4 separate regions of the Homo sapiens genome follow, and all the other regions are linked to region 2. The links are contacts of gene promoters, found by promoter capture Hi-C in blood cells and fetal thymus (Javierre and others, 2016). All regions are on one chromosome and are shown on one strand. The core of a region is centred on a gene start or on the middle of the fragment in contact, and the rest is flanking DNA. Distances in the headings are between cores, read along the strand shown. Region 1 has its middle 13 kb from the start of TRIM2. Region 2 holds the start of RNF175 (ring finger protein 175). Region 3 overlaps ARFIP1 (ARF interacting protein 1). Region 4 has its middle 57 kb from the start of TRIM2.

The links. The method cuts DNA at HindIII sites, captures the fragments that hold promoters and counts their contacts. A CHiCAGO score of 5 or more calls a contact.
Region 1: a fragment that was not itself captured here is called in contact with the fragment with the promoter of RNF175 in region 2 in 1 of 17 cell types (fetal thymus); the score reaches 6.7 in fetal thymus.
Region 3: a contact is called between a fragment that was not itself captured here and the fragment with the promoter of RNF175 in region 2, in 4 of 17 cell types (naive B cells, fetal thymus, total B cells and 1 more). The highest score is 7.3, in naive B cells.
Region 4: a fragment that was not itself captured here is called in contact with the fragment with the promoter of RNF175 in region 2 in 8 of 17 cell types (M1 macrophages, M2 macrophages, fetal thymus and 5 more); the score reaches 8.1 in M1 macrophages.

Annotation. Positions count from the first base shown.
Region 1 is chr4:153,190,064-153,193,189 of GRCh38, reverse strand. It overlaps a transcript of TRIM2 not described here. Among named protein-coding and RNA genes, the nearest start is that of TRIM2, 13 kb to the left of the region's middle. The HindIII fragment of the contact is 175 bases long and covers 1,269-1,443 here.
Region 2 is chr4:153,758,609-153,761,519 of GRCh38, reverse strand. RNF175 (ring finger protein 175) reads left to right here and starts at 1,496. Exons shown (of 9, transcript NM_173662.4): 1 at 1,496-1,723. The coding sequence starts at 1,658. The HindIII fragment of the contact is 8,763 bases long and covers 1-2,911 here.
Region 3 is chr4:152,847,155-152,850,299 of GRCh38, reverse strand. The region is part of intron 2 of ARFIP1 (ARF interacting protein 1); the gene reads right to left. Among named protein-coding and RNA genes, the nearest start is that of ARFIP1, 69 kb to the right of the region's middle. RefSeq lists an enhancer at 2,595-3,095. The HindIII fragment of the contact is 1,321 bases long and covers 782-2,102 here.
Region 4 is chr4:153,145,900-153,148,647 of GRCh38, reverse strand. No RefSeq gene overlaps it. Among named protein-coding and RNA genes, the nearest start is that of TRIM2, 57 kb to the left of the region's middle. The HindIII fragment of the contact is 363 bases long and covers 1,250-1,612 here.

The DNA of each region.
Region 1 (3,126 bases), core at 107-2,606, 570 kb after region 2:
ACTTCATTCCAGCCTGGGCGACAGAGTGAGACTCTGCCTCAAAAAAAAAAAAAAAAAAAAAAGATTATTCACTAAGGGTCCCTCTGTGGTAGGCAGGCATGCTCCTAAGAGATGAGGAATAAAGCAGTGAACAAAACATACAGAAGTTACATTCTACTAGGGTAGACAGACAATTACAGATAGACAACTAAAACTATAGACCATGTCCAGTAAGTGCTGCCAGGAAAAATAAAACAGCTTTAAAAGAGGATTGGGAACAACTGATGGTGGACTTGGGTGGGCTGGTCTGAACCAGAAAGTCACAGTTTTAAATAGGATGGTCAAGGAAAGCCTCACTGAGAAACACTTTCTGTGAGAAGATCTGGATGGGCCCATCAAGTGTGCCATGGGCTGTCTGGGAAAACAGCATCCTTGGTAGTGTTTGGAACAGTGGGTGCAAAGGCCCGGGGACTCCTGGATCTAGTGCTTAGTGGCTGTTTTGGATCTGCTGACTGTGATGGGCACAATATATCGAACTGTCATCATTAATTCCATTTGTTCTACTTGCTGTTAGACTCTTTTAACTTTCTTTTTTTTTTTTTTTTTTTGAGATAGGGTCTCTGTCACTCTGGCTGGGATGCAATGGCATGATCATGGCTCACCGTAAACTTGACCTTCCAGGCTCAGGTGGTCCTCCCACCTCAGTCTCCTGAGTAACTGGGACTACTGGCGCCCACCACTATGCCCAGCTAATTTTTGTATTTTTTGTAGAGATGGGGTTTTGCCATGTTTCCCAGGCTGGTCTCAAACTCCTGAGGTCAAGTGATCCACCTGCCTTGGCCTCCCAAAGTGTTGGGATTAGAGGTGTGAGCCACCACTCCCAGCCTAGATTCTCTTAACCTTGAGGTACATTTTCTCCCCCACTGTTTAGAGATTGATGCTTTGATTGTAATGTAGAGACTTGACACTTTTTAGAATACAGATACAATGCTGGTTATAGTGGAATTCAAATGCAACAAGTTGGCCTGTGGCCCTGTGCTTAAACAATCACTGTGGTGCGGGATGCCTGGGGAAGGGTGTGGGGTGAGGAATTGTCTTTGTTGCTCTGGGGTTTCACTAAAAGACTGACCAATTAGATCTGGGCTTGGCAACAAAAAGGGGTACGTGGAGATGGCAGAGGAGATTCACAGAGAGTAACTGAGATAATAAAAGGGCTGACTGGACAATAAACCCAGAGGGGACATGCTAGGAACTGAGGATGCAACTACGTGGTTTGATGAAGGGAAGCTTCTATGCTCATACCCATTTCTTCTGAGAACAAACTCAAAGAAAACAGGCTTAACTTGCGGCACGATGACTTTAGGGATGTTTATGAAAAGGAGCTTCTATATACTATAGGAAGGCTTGTTAAACATTGCAGACTGTGTGACTCCCAGTCTCTGAAATTACTGAAATGAAGAAGCTTATGAAAACAAAAATCCTTTCAACCTTGTCATCAGGCTCACTTATTTTCAGAACTATATCATCATGAAGGAAATCTACTGTTTAAAAAATAAATAAGAAGTACCAAACAATAGCTTAGAATGCCTCTCCAGAATTGTGCCTAAGAACAAAAAATCTGGGTACATTTTCTGAAAGCACAGACTGTCTGATTTCTGGGGAATCCCCATACAACTCAGTTATACAGCTATGCATTTCTCACTTAAATATTTTACGTTTAAAGTAACCTGTGTTCCTCATTATTGCATTTTTAAGCATCCACTCGGGGATGGATGTTCAATTTAAAGTGTTATCTCTTTCTCCAGGATTGTCCGGGACACAGGGATGGCCCCCAAGGCCGTGTTTGTGCTATATGATCTTGCTCATGATTAATCCAAGCTAAGCCAATAATTTTTCTCAGACTGTTTAGCCATAGATGACTGATCTGGAAAAGAGGGGTTGGGGAAAACAAGGGAGGCCCCAACTCAAACTAAGCCCATCATTGGACTTTTTGAACTAAAACTAAGGGAAAAGAACCAATCCTTCCTGCTGCTTGACTCCATAAGATAGGAGGTCACCAGCTTTAATCATCTGTATTCCTGCCAAGTGAAAAAAGCTAAGCTTCAGAAGAAGAGAATAAAGCTAAAAGGCATAGAGAAGGAGAAATAAGAGACAGAGAAAAAGAATAGCATTCCAGGCTGGGCGCGGTGGCTCACGCCTGTAATCCCAGCACTTTGGGAAGCTGAGGTGGTGGATCGCTTGGGGTCAGGAGTTCGAGACCAGCCTGGCCAACATGGTAAAACCCTGTCTCTACTAAAATACAAAAATTGGCTGGGCATGATGGCGGCCACTTGTAACCCCAGCTACCCGGGGTGCTGAGGCAGGAGAATTGCGTGAAACCAGGAGGCAGAGGTTGCAGTGAGCTGAAATCGTGCCACTGCATTCTAGCCTGGGCAACAGAGTGAGACTCCATCTCAAAAAATACAAAATAAAAAAAGAAAAGAATAGCATTCCAGACCCTGGTTGCAGCTGTCCCTAATGTCCAAATGCATCTCTGAGTCTTGTCAGATGCCCTAGTATTCCTCCCAATGACATCCATCTTTTTTCTGAGTTAGTTTGAGTTTTGTTTCTATTTCTTGTCATGAAAAGATGGTTAACAGTAGATTCTGGAGTCGGGCCCCATAACTTATATGCTTTGAGATTTTGGGCTGCTTTAAAAAAAAATCTTTAAGCCTCAACTTCTTCATATGTAAACTGGTGATAATATTAGCATCCTCCCCTAAGTCCTGTGAAGAATACAGAGATAAATCATAAAATGCACTTAGCACAGTGCCAGGCACAATGTAGGTGCTCAGTAAATGTTACTTACTGTAATGAATGGCACTAAAAATCAAGTCATACCCACCACTATCTGCTATTCTGTTTGTTTCCATCTGGCTATTGTTTAAGGTACAGCCTCTTTTTCCTGCTGTCATTCCCACATCTTCTCTTACATGTCTTTGGATACAGAATTCATCTTCTCTACAGTACTTCCTTTCTAGCAGAAAAACACCCTTCATTCTTGAATCACTAGCTTTCCTGAGAAACTAACTGTAACTCACCAATGTCAACTGTTTTTCCCAACTCCATCTGCAAGCCGAAAGGAATTTGCTGAGCTTTAAACTTAGA
Region 2 (2,911 bases), core at 247-2,746:
AGTGCTCAGGACGGCACCTGGCACACGGTAAGCATTCTATCAATGTTAACCATGATTTTTATTTCTCCAATTCATTATGCCTTCTCCAGCATTCCGGCCCTTGCATCCACTGTTCTCTCCATCTCAGACACTCTTTCCAACACACTCTGATCATGCTACAAGGTAGTCTTCAGATGTAGGTAACAGCCCCAGCGGCACCTGAAAACTTGTTCAAAAGACAAATGCTCAGGCTCCACCCTAGACCTACTATATTAAAAACTCTAGGGCTCAACTCCAGCAATCTGAAGATTTTTGTTTTGTTTTTTGATAGAGTCTCGCTCTGTTGTCCAGGCAGAAGTGCAGTGGTTCCATCACGGCTTACTGCAGCCTGAACCTCCCGGGCTCCGGCGATCCTCCAGCCTCAACCTCCTGAGTAGCTGGGGCTACAGGTGTACCACGCCCAGCTCACTTTTGTATATTTTATAGAGATGGGGCTTCACCATGTTGCCTAGGCTGGTCTCAAACTCCTAGGTTCAAGCAATCCGCCCGCCCTGTCCTCCCAAAGTGCTGGGATTAAAGGCATCAGCCACTGTGCTTGGCCAGCACTCTGAGTTTTAACAAACTCAGCATTCCTCCATAGGATTCTGATGCCCAGTTAAGGCTGGAAAACCAAGGCACCATCCGTGATAAATTGTACTTAGATGCTTATTTTTCTCTATCCCCTGTTAGGCTCTACGTTCCACAATGGCAGAGAAATGTCCATCTTGGTCTGTTCACCTCCTTTGTAGGTGTTGACAAATACGAGCCATCACAAACTGGAAAGGGGTAAGCTGTATTTCGTAGGACACATCATCTAATTCTGTGCTCCTCTTTTCTGTTTCCCCAAATCAACACCCAGGTATTTCTAAAGGCTTGCCTAAACGTTCCAGCTTGTTCTCAACCTTGAAGCCAGGCTTAGGCCTAAGTTGTAAAGGCGGGAGGGGAGACCCTGGAGGTAGAGGGGCAAAGGCAAGATGCTTGCGTCGCAGGGGCCCTGCATGGCCTGGAGCAGCATAGGGGCCAAGATGGTCTGCGCTCTCCCTAGATTGGAGTTTCTCTCCTTCATCATCTTTGGAGGAAGCACAGATAACTGAGGAAAGTCTGTATCTGCACAGCCACCCGAACTCCTGCCTCCTAATAAACACCTCTGAGGGAGAGGAAACTCTCTCTCTCTCTTCTCTTCCTCCCCAGCACCCCTCGCCCCCCCACCGCCATTTCTCACTCCTCTACTCCCCTCTCTCTCCCTACCCACCTCTGACCCCTCCTCCAGTCCTGCCGCCCGGTAACAAAACCGGGGTTCCCGCCACACGCACCCGGTAGGGCTCAAGACGCTTTATCGGCGACAATGGCTGGCTGAATGGGAGGCCTGAGGTTCTGAAGGAACCGGGGTGCTGGCGACCGGGACCTCGAGGCCGCTGCTGGGGAGGACGCTGGCCAGCGTGCAGGGGGCGGAGGCGGGGCGTGCCGGGAGGCTCCCATCTCCCGCCCCGCACAACCCGGGCAGGGCCGCCGCTCCGCCGCCGCCGCAGATCCGGCTCTCACCCTCGGCTCCCGAGGCCCCGCGGCGCCTCCTTCTGCGGACTCTGCGGGACCCTCCCCGGCAGGCGCTGTGCCCTGGAGAAGGCACAGTGGCTCAGGCATGGCCGCGGGGACGGCGGCGCGGAAGGCAGCGCCGGTGCTGGAGGCCCCCCCGCAGCAGGAGCAGGTACTGGCGCGGGGGCGCGGGCGTGGGGGACGCCAGGCCGGGGTCCCGGGGCTCACGCTGGTGCCGGGCAGGCTGCACAGACTGGTCTCCAAGACCCCGGGCCCCACCGGGGAGAACCGGCCCTGGAAAGACGTGGGGACGGACGCATGACCTTCTGGAAGATGCCACCGTGCGGGGTGCCAGTCCCTCCTCCACTCCCTCCCTCCCCACTTCTGTGCCCTCCCCGCTACCTTCCTTTCCTCCTTCTGATCCTCTTCCTTCGCTCCATCCCTCTTCTCGCATCCTCGCACTTTCTCTTCCAGGCTCACCCCTTCCACTCCCGCCCTCCTTTGTGACCGCCTGTGCCCTCCTCCCTCCTCGGCGGAAGCCCCCAGAGCCCAGGGTCAAGGTCGTAAGCTGCGAGAGAGGGGAAGGGGTGTACTGCAGGCTTTTGGCTAGACCGCCCTGGTTCTCAAACTCGAGTGTCATCAGAATCACTCGGAGGGCCTGTTACCACGCAGACTGCTGGTCTGTGCCCAGGGTTTCTGATTCAAGATGTGTACCCTGATCGTCAGCTTGTCTTGCCTGGTGCTCAACCTAGCCCATTTCTGCTTCTGCTGGCGTCAATTGCAAACCCAATCTTAATTTATTCTTCGTTCATAGGACAATTCTTCTTAGGCTACATCCAGGTACCAGGAGGATTTGGGGGTGGAGGAGGGTAGGTCTTACCTGGAGGAACCCAAATCCCATCCGTAAAACGAGGACAAAAATAACTCTTAAGGGCAAAGATAACTCTTAAACAACAACAAAAATCACTCACAGAGCGGGTAGGAAGAGATTAATGTCCCAAAATAGGTTCAGGCAAAGAACTGTAGGATTTCTGAGAAGGGCTTGCTCCTGACTAACCCCCTTCTCCTCCAACCCGTGAGGGCGTGGCATTCGAGCTGGGTGTTGGGGAATGGACAGGATCTGACCTCATGGGCCAGAGAATTCTAGATGGAGGGAACAACAGTACCAAATGGCTTGGAGATTTTTTTTTTTTTAATATTGGGATGGATGGCCATGGGACAAGGCAGAGAGAGGGGACTGTCCACTCTGACTGCCAGAAACCTAGGGGTCAGGAATGCTTATAGCAAAAAATAAGGGTGGGCTAGGCTGTGGAGGGGCTTGTGTACCACAAAATGGGGAAACTTAAAATGAAACTCCATG
Region 3 (3,145 bases), core at 193-2,692, 910 kb after region 2:
GTTAGCAATTCCTTCCAAGCTGATATATTCGCTGTCTAGGCTGAAAGTTTTCACCGATCATTAAAAATACAGTCCACTAATGTTATGGTAGGTAGTAAGTTGCTATATTTTAAAATATAAATTGTAAAACACTTAAAATCTGTTCCATGAGCCTGCCTACCTATGCTGATGCAGAATGACAGGGGATAGTAATAATGATATGTAAAGGTATGTGATTTTATTTTCCCTCCGTATACTTGCAGAAATGCGTAAAATTGGTAATCTGGATCAGGTTTGGGAATCTGTAGTTGGACAACATGCCAAAAAAGTGTCAGGGCAGATAAAAGACATTTTAGACTTAGTATAACCCAATCTACACCTTAGTCTCAGATTTCATTAACATCTTCATTTCTAATGCCTTTCATCTTTCATACCCCATATTCCACTCAGGCAACCTAAACTCAAATTGCCACTCTTAGACCTTGTCATCACTTCGGAAGCAACACTTCTAGATTCTCACTTTAAATAAGTTTAATAACTCACTTTATGATCACAATATCCTCCTGTATCTTATTCCATCTAATCAAGAGAGTAAATCTAACATTTTTATTGATTTTTTTCCATTTACCACCATACACACACACACCTGCCTGCCACAGACACACAATTTCAATCTTCTTTTCTCCCTCTCTCCCATTCATTCAACAATATTTAACAAGAACTTACAAGTACCTTTTGGTGGTTCACTGCCTACCCTCTTGGCCTCACCCACTTAGTCTAGATTCTAAGTAGTTCAAAAGCTTGAATCATGTACCAACTTGCATCAAAGAAATACTGAATTCATTCACATACTATCACTGTGGAAATATTTATATGTATCTACATTCAAAATAATTCCTTCAAAAAATTTAAAAACGACATATTCCTAATAGCTTTTGTTTATAAATAACGACACACTCTCAGATTATAATTTAAGACAGATAAGCCTTCAACCTTTCATTATGAATTGTATTTTCAACAAAATTCCTCCAAGAAATAAAAAAAAACATATTACTAATAGCTTTTGTTTATAAATAAGGGCACACTCTCAGATTATAATTAAGACAGATAAGCCTTCAACCTTTCATTATGAATTGTATTTTCAACAGGACTCTCAATCCAGAATTAATTTAATGTATGTGTATATTAAAAATATACTTAAAATTTTAATTTGTAGTAATAGTATTAAAAGTATAGCCTATAGCTGAAAAGCAAACAGTATTAAAATGAATCTAGATTTGTATGGGTTAAACAATCCTTGAAAACCATTTGCCATACCTCTAAAAGGGATCAACATACATATTTGGTCAAAACTGGCTCTCTGAAAAAGCCCCCATCAAATCATTATTGCCATTGACCGAGCTACTACATTTTTTATGTGTGAGTAACGTGGAAACATTATATTGCATTCCTATATAGAATGGAGACAAACTGTAATCACATGCTATGAAAACCCTAGGGTAGGATGGCTGAAGGAGAAAAGATGTCAACTTTTAAGTCTATTTACTAGAATTCATTCTTTTATTGAGCAACTACTATGAACCAAAACTTGTGCTGTGTATACACACTATCTCTGACCTAACAGTGATTCCAATCTCTTGGGAAAAGGAGATAAATAAGTTACAACATGTGACTGGTGGGGGTAGGAGTTGGAGGAACAGTGTTCCAACAATTTCTTGTATTTCTTTCCCAAATCTTCTGCAGATCGTAGTGTATGATATTGCAGACTGCTAAGTACAAGGGAATGAAGAAACGACTTAGCTCAACAAAATCATTAAAAATAAAACTATAACAACAAAGACTCACACTCACAAACCCAAATACCACATGCAGGGAAATTAAGGACACAAGATGTATCAAATATAAGATTACAATATCTCTTCCCTGGTTTTTCAGAGAAGTCTAAAAATCTGGTTTCTAGTCCTCGTCCTCGTTCTTACGTGAATAAACATTCATTTATTCACCATTTATTGAAAGGCCCTCTTTGGTAGTAAGTGCCAAAAACTGTTACCAAACCCTGGAAATAAGGTAATGAAAGAGAGCGCTCTTGCACTCACTGCAGTTATAGTCAAATCACATAAGCTTTTGGTACAGCTATTTAATTAATACTGGGTAATTCCATAACAACTTCAAGGGCCTTTTTTCTCCACTATAAAATAACATAGTGAGACTCCGAGATCTCTAAGGTAGTTCTACTGAACGAATACTCTGTGATATCACTTAAAACTTACAGGTGGGGGGTTCTTAAGACTCAGGGAACCTGAGAACCCTTATGCAGGGTTCAGGGGGTCCTAAGCTCACTAAATCTGAATGCAAAATTTGGTAGGTTTGTGTATGGACATTTTGCTAGAGAAAGTGTTCATAGGTAAAAACACCCTACATTAGTGGATTTTTGTTTTGGGCCTTCCACGGGAAAAATTCCATTTTAGCTAGGTCTAAGGAGGCAATGTCTTTAAATCTACCAACTATAAATTAATTCACAAGAAGTTTCAACCATGTGGAGTTAGTATGATTTGCTTCTGCTCTTAAACTCATGGTATGAGTTGCAAATTTCTAATTAATTTTGACCAGCACTATAACAGCATCCATTACAAATACTACACACAGTTTACAAATCAGAGTAATTTGAATTATTTAGATTAAATTGTAATACTCTTTTTTAAAAGAATAATTTTTAAAAGAATAATTTTAAAGAATAATTCTTAAAATAATAATTTTATTTTTATTTTCTAAATAAAATGCATTTATTTAGAAGCAGAAATATTTTTGCTGTAAAAAACTGAGATAATACTAAGATGATTATCCTCTCCACATCTGGCTGTTGCTGCCCCATCTTAATAAAAAGAAGACACCGGGTGCAGTGGCTCATGCCTGTAATCCCAGCACTTTGGGGGACCAGGGCAGGAGGATCACCTGAGGTCAAGAGTTCAAGACCAGCCTGGCCAACATGGCGAAACCCTGTCACCACTGAAAATACAAAAATTAGCCGGGCGTGGTGGCACATGACTGTGGTCCCAGCTACTTGGGAGGCTGAGGCAGGAGAACAGCTTGAACCTGGGAGGCGGAGGTTGCAGTGAGCCGAGATCACACCATTGCACTCCGGCCTGGGGGCGACAGAGTGAGACTC
Region 4 (2,748 bases), core at 182-2,681, 610 kb after region 2:
GCCCAGGCTACAGTGCAGTGGCGAGATCACAGCTCATAGCAGCCTCCACCTCCTGGGCTCAAGTGATCCTCCCACCTCAGCCTCTTGAGTAGTTGGGACCACAGGCACATGCCCCCACTCCCAGCTAATTTTTTAAATTTTTAATAGAGAAGAGGTCTTGCTATGTTGCCAAGTGGGTCTCGAACTCCTGAGCTCAAGCAATTCTCACCTTGGCCTCCCAAAGTGCCCAGCCCACTATTATTAATATTTTATAAATGCAACATTGCTTATATTTGTACACAGTTTTTACCTATATTTCTCATCATTCCTTTTTGCTTCTCAGAATGTCCTTCTGGGATCATTCTCCTTTTCCTTAAAGTACATCCCTGGGAAGATTCATAGAGTGTTTTATTACTGAATTATCTCAGCTTTGGTTTGATAATGTCTTCATTTTGGTTTTGTTCTGATATACAGTTTCACTTGACATGATTTTGGGGTTCACGGTTATTTCTTTTTCTTTTTCTTTCTTTTTTTTTTTTTTGAGACAGAGTCTCACTCATCGCCCAGGCTGGAATGAATGCAATGTTGTGATTATGGCTCACTGAAGCCTCTATCTCTTGGGCTCAAGTGATCCTCCCACCTCAGCCTCCAGAGTAGCTGGGACTGGAGCTGCCACATGCCTGGCTAATTTTTTGTATTTTTTTTGTAGAAACGGGGTTTCACCATGTTGCCCAGGCTGGTCTCAAACTCCTGGCCTCAAGCAATCCACCTACCTTGGCCTCCTAAAGTGCTGGGATTACAGATGTGAGCCACCACGCCCAGTCTCATGGTTATTTTCAAGTAATACTTTGAAATATAATTCCGCTGTCTTACAGCTTCACTGTTGCTATTGAGGAATCAGCTGCCATCTAATTTTTGCTTCTTTTTCTAGTTAATCTGTCAACTTTAGGTGTTTTGCTTCATGTTATGCTTGTATTCCACTATATTATTTTTACAAAATGTCAAACACACTTATTTAATATTCCATACCGATCACTCTAGTATTCAGCCTTTGCAGGTTTAAGTCAGCAGCTTTTTGTCTCAGCTGACACTTACTCATGTCTTATTTTCCTGTTTATTTAGTGGTTTTTATTTATGGTGAATTCTTGTATCTGGAAGCTTTATCCTGTGGGAACTCTGTGTTAAAGTGCAATGCCCAGGTAGGTGAATTAGGAAGATTGAGACACTTCCCACATGAAACCACTTTAAAATAAATTTTATGTTTAAAGCTTTCAAGCCCAGTAGCAAGTGTACATTTCAGGTTCACACACTTGTGAGTTGGAGCATATGGTTGGGCAGTTCTGAGCATTTCTCCATACTTCACCCAGAGCCAAGCCTGAGATAGGTAACATGGTGTTATGTAGGTACATTTTTCCCTTGTATAATCATTGTGTTGCTTTTCAGGGGTTCTGGCTTCAGATTGGGCATCTCTTATCTGGCCTCCAGCCCTGCTCAAGCCCCAGGCTTTTTATCTTCTTCCCTTGTATGTGGCTCATTCAAATTCAAACCGTAAGCCATGGAGGGTTGGCAGACATTCTCCACCCCCACCCATAAAAAGGCCTGCTCTACCCTGTTTCCCTCCTGCAATCAAGCTTTCTTACAGTTCGGCCTTCTTCTTATTCTTCTTTTTTTTTTTTGGAGATAGAGTCCCGCTCCATCGACCAGGCTGGAGTGCAGTGGCGTGATCTCAGCTCACTGCAACCTCCATCTCCCAGGTTCAAGCAATTCTCCTGCCTCAGCCTCTGGAGTAGCTAGGATTACAGGTGCATGCCATCATGCCCAGCTAATTTTTGTATTTTGGTAGAGACGGGGTTTCACTAGGTTGGCCAGGCTGGTCTCAAACTCCTGACCTCAGGTGATCTACACACCTCGGCCTCCCAAAGTACTGGGATTACAGACGTGAGCCACTGCGCCCAGCCAGTTCTGTCTTTTATTAACTTTACCATCAGCCAAGCAGAGCTTTGAAATAATAAGACAAATAATCCAATTTAAAAAGTGGGCTAAAGATTTGGACAGACATTTTACTAAAGAATGAACAGGCATGGTGGCTCATGCCTGTAATCCCAGTGCCTTGGGAGGCTAAGTCAGGGTGATTGCTTGAGCCCAGGAGTTTGAGACTAGCCTAGGCAACATAGTGAGGCTCCGTCTCTACAAATATAAAAAATAAAATTAGCTGGGCCTTGTGGTGCACGGCGGTAGTCCCAGCTACTAGGGAGGCTGAGATGGGAAGATCTCTTGAGTCAGGGAGTTCAAGGTTACAGTGAGCTATGATCATGCCACTGCACTTCAGCCCGAGCAACAGAGCAAGACTTGTCTGAAGAAAAAAAAAAAAAGATATACAGGGATAGCAAATAAGCATATGAAAAGATGCCTAACACTATTAGTCATTAGGGAAATGCAAATTAAAACCACAATGAAATGCCACTATATGAGAATGGTTAAAAATCAAAAAGACTGACAATATCAAGTATTGTCAAGAATGTGGAACAACTGGAACTCTCCTACATTGCTGGTAGAAGTGTAAAATGGTGTAGCTGCTTTTGGAAACAATTGAGCAGGTTTCTTATGAAGTTAAACATACACATACCATATATATTAGTTTTCTATCGTTGTAACAAATCATCACAAACAGTGGCTTATAACTACATTTATTTGTTAGCTCACAGTTCTCATGGTTCTATAGGTCAGCAGGCTTGAACATTGTGGCGGGTTTTCTGCTCATGGTATCAC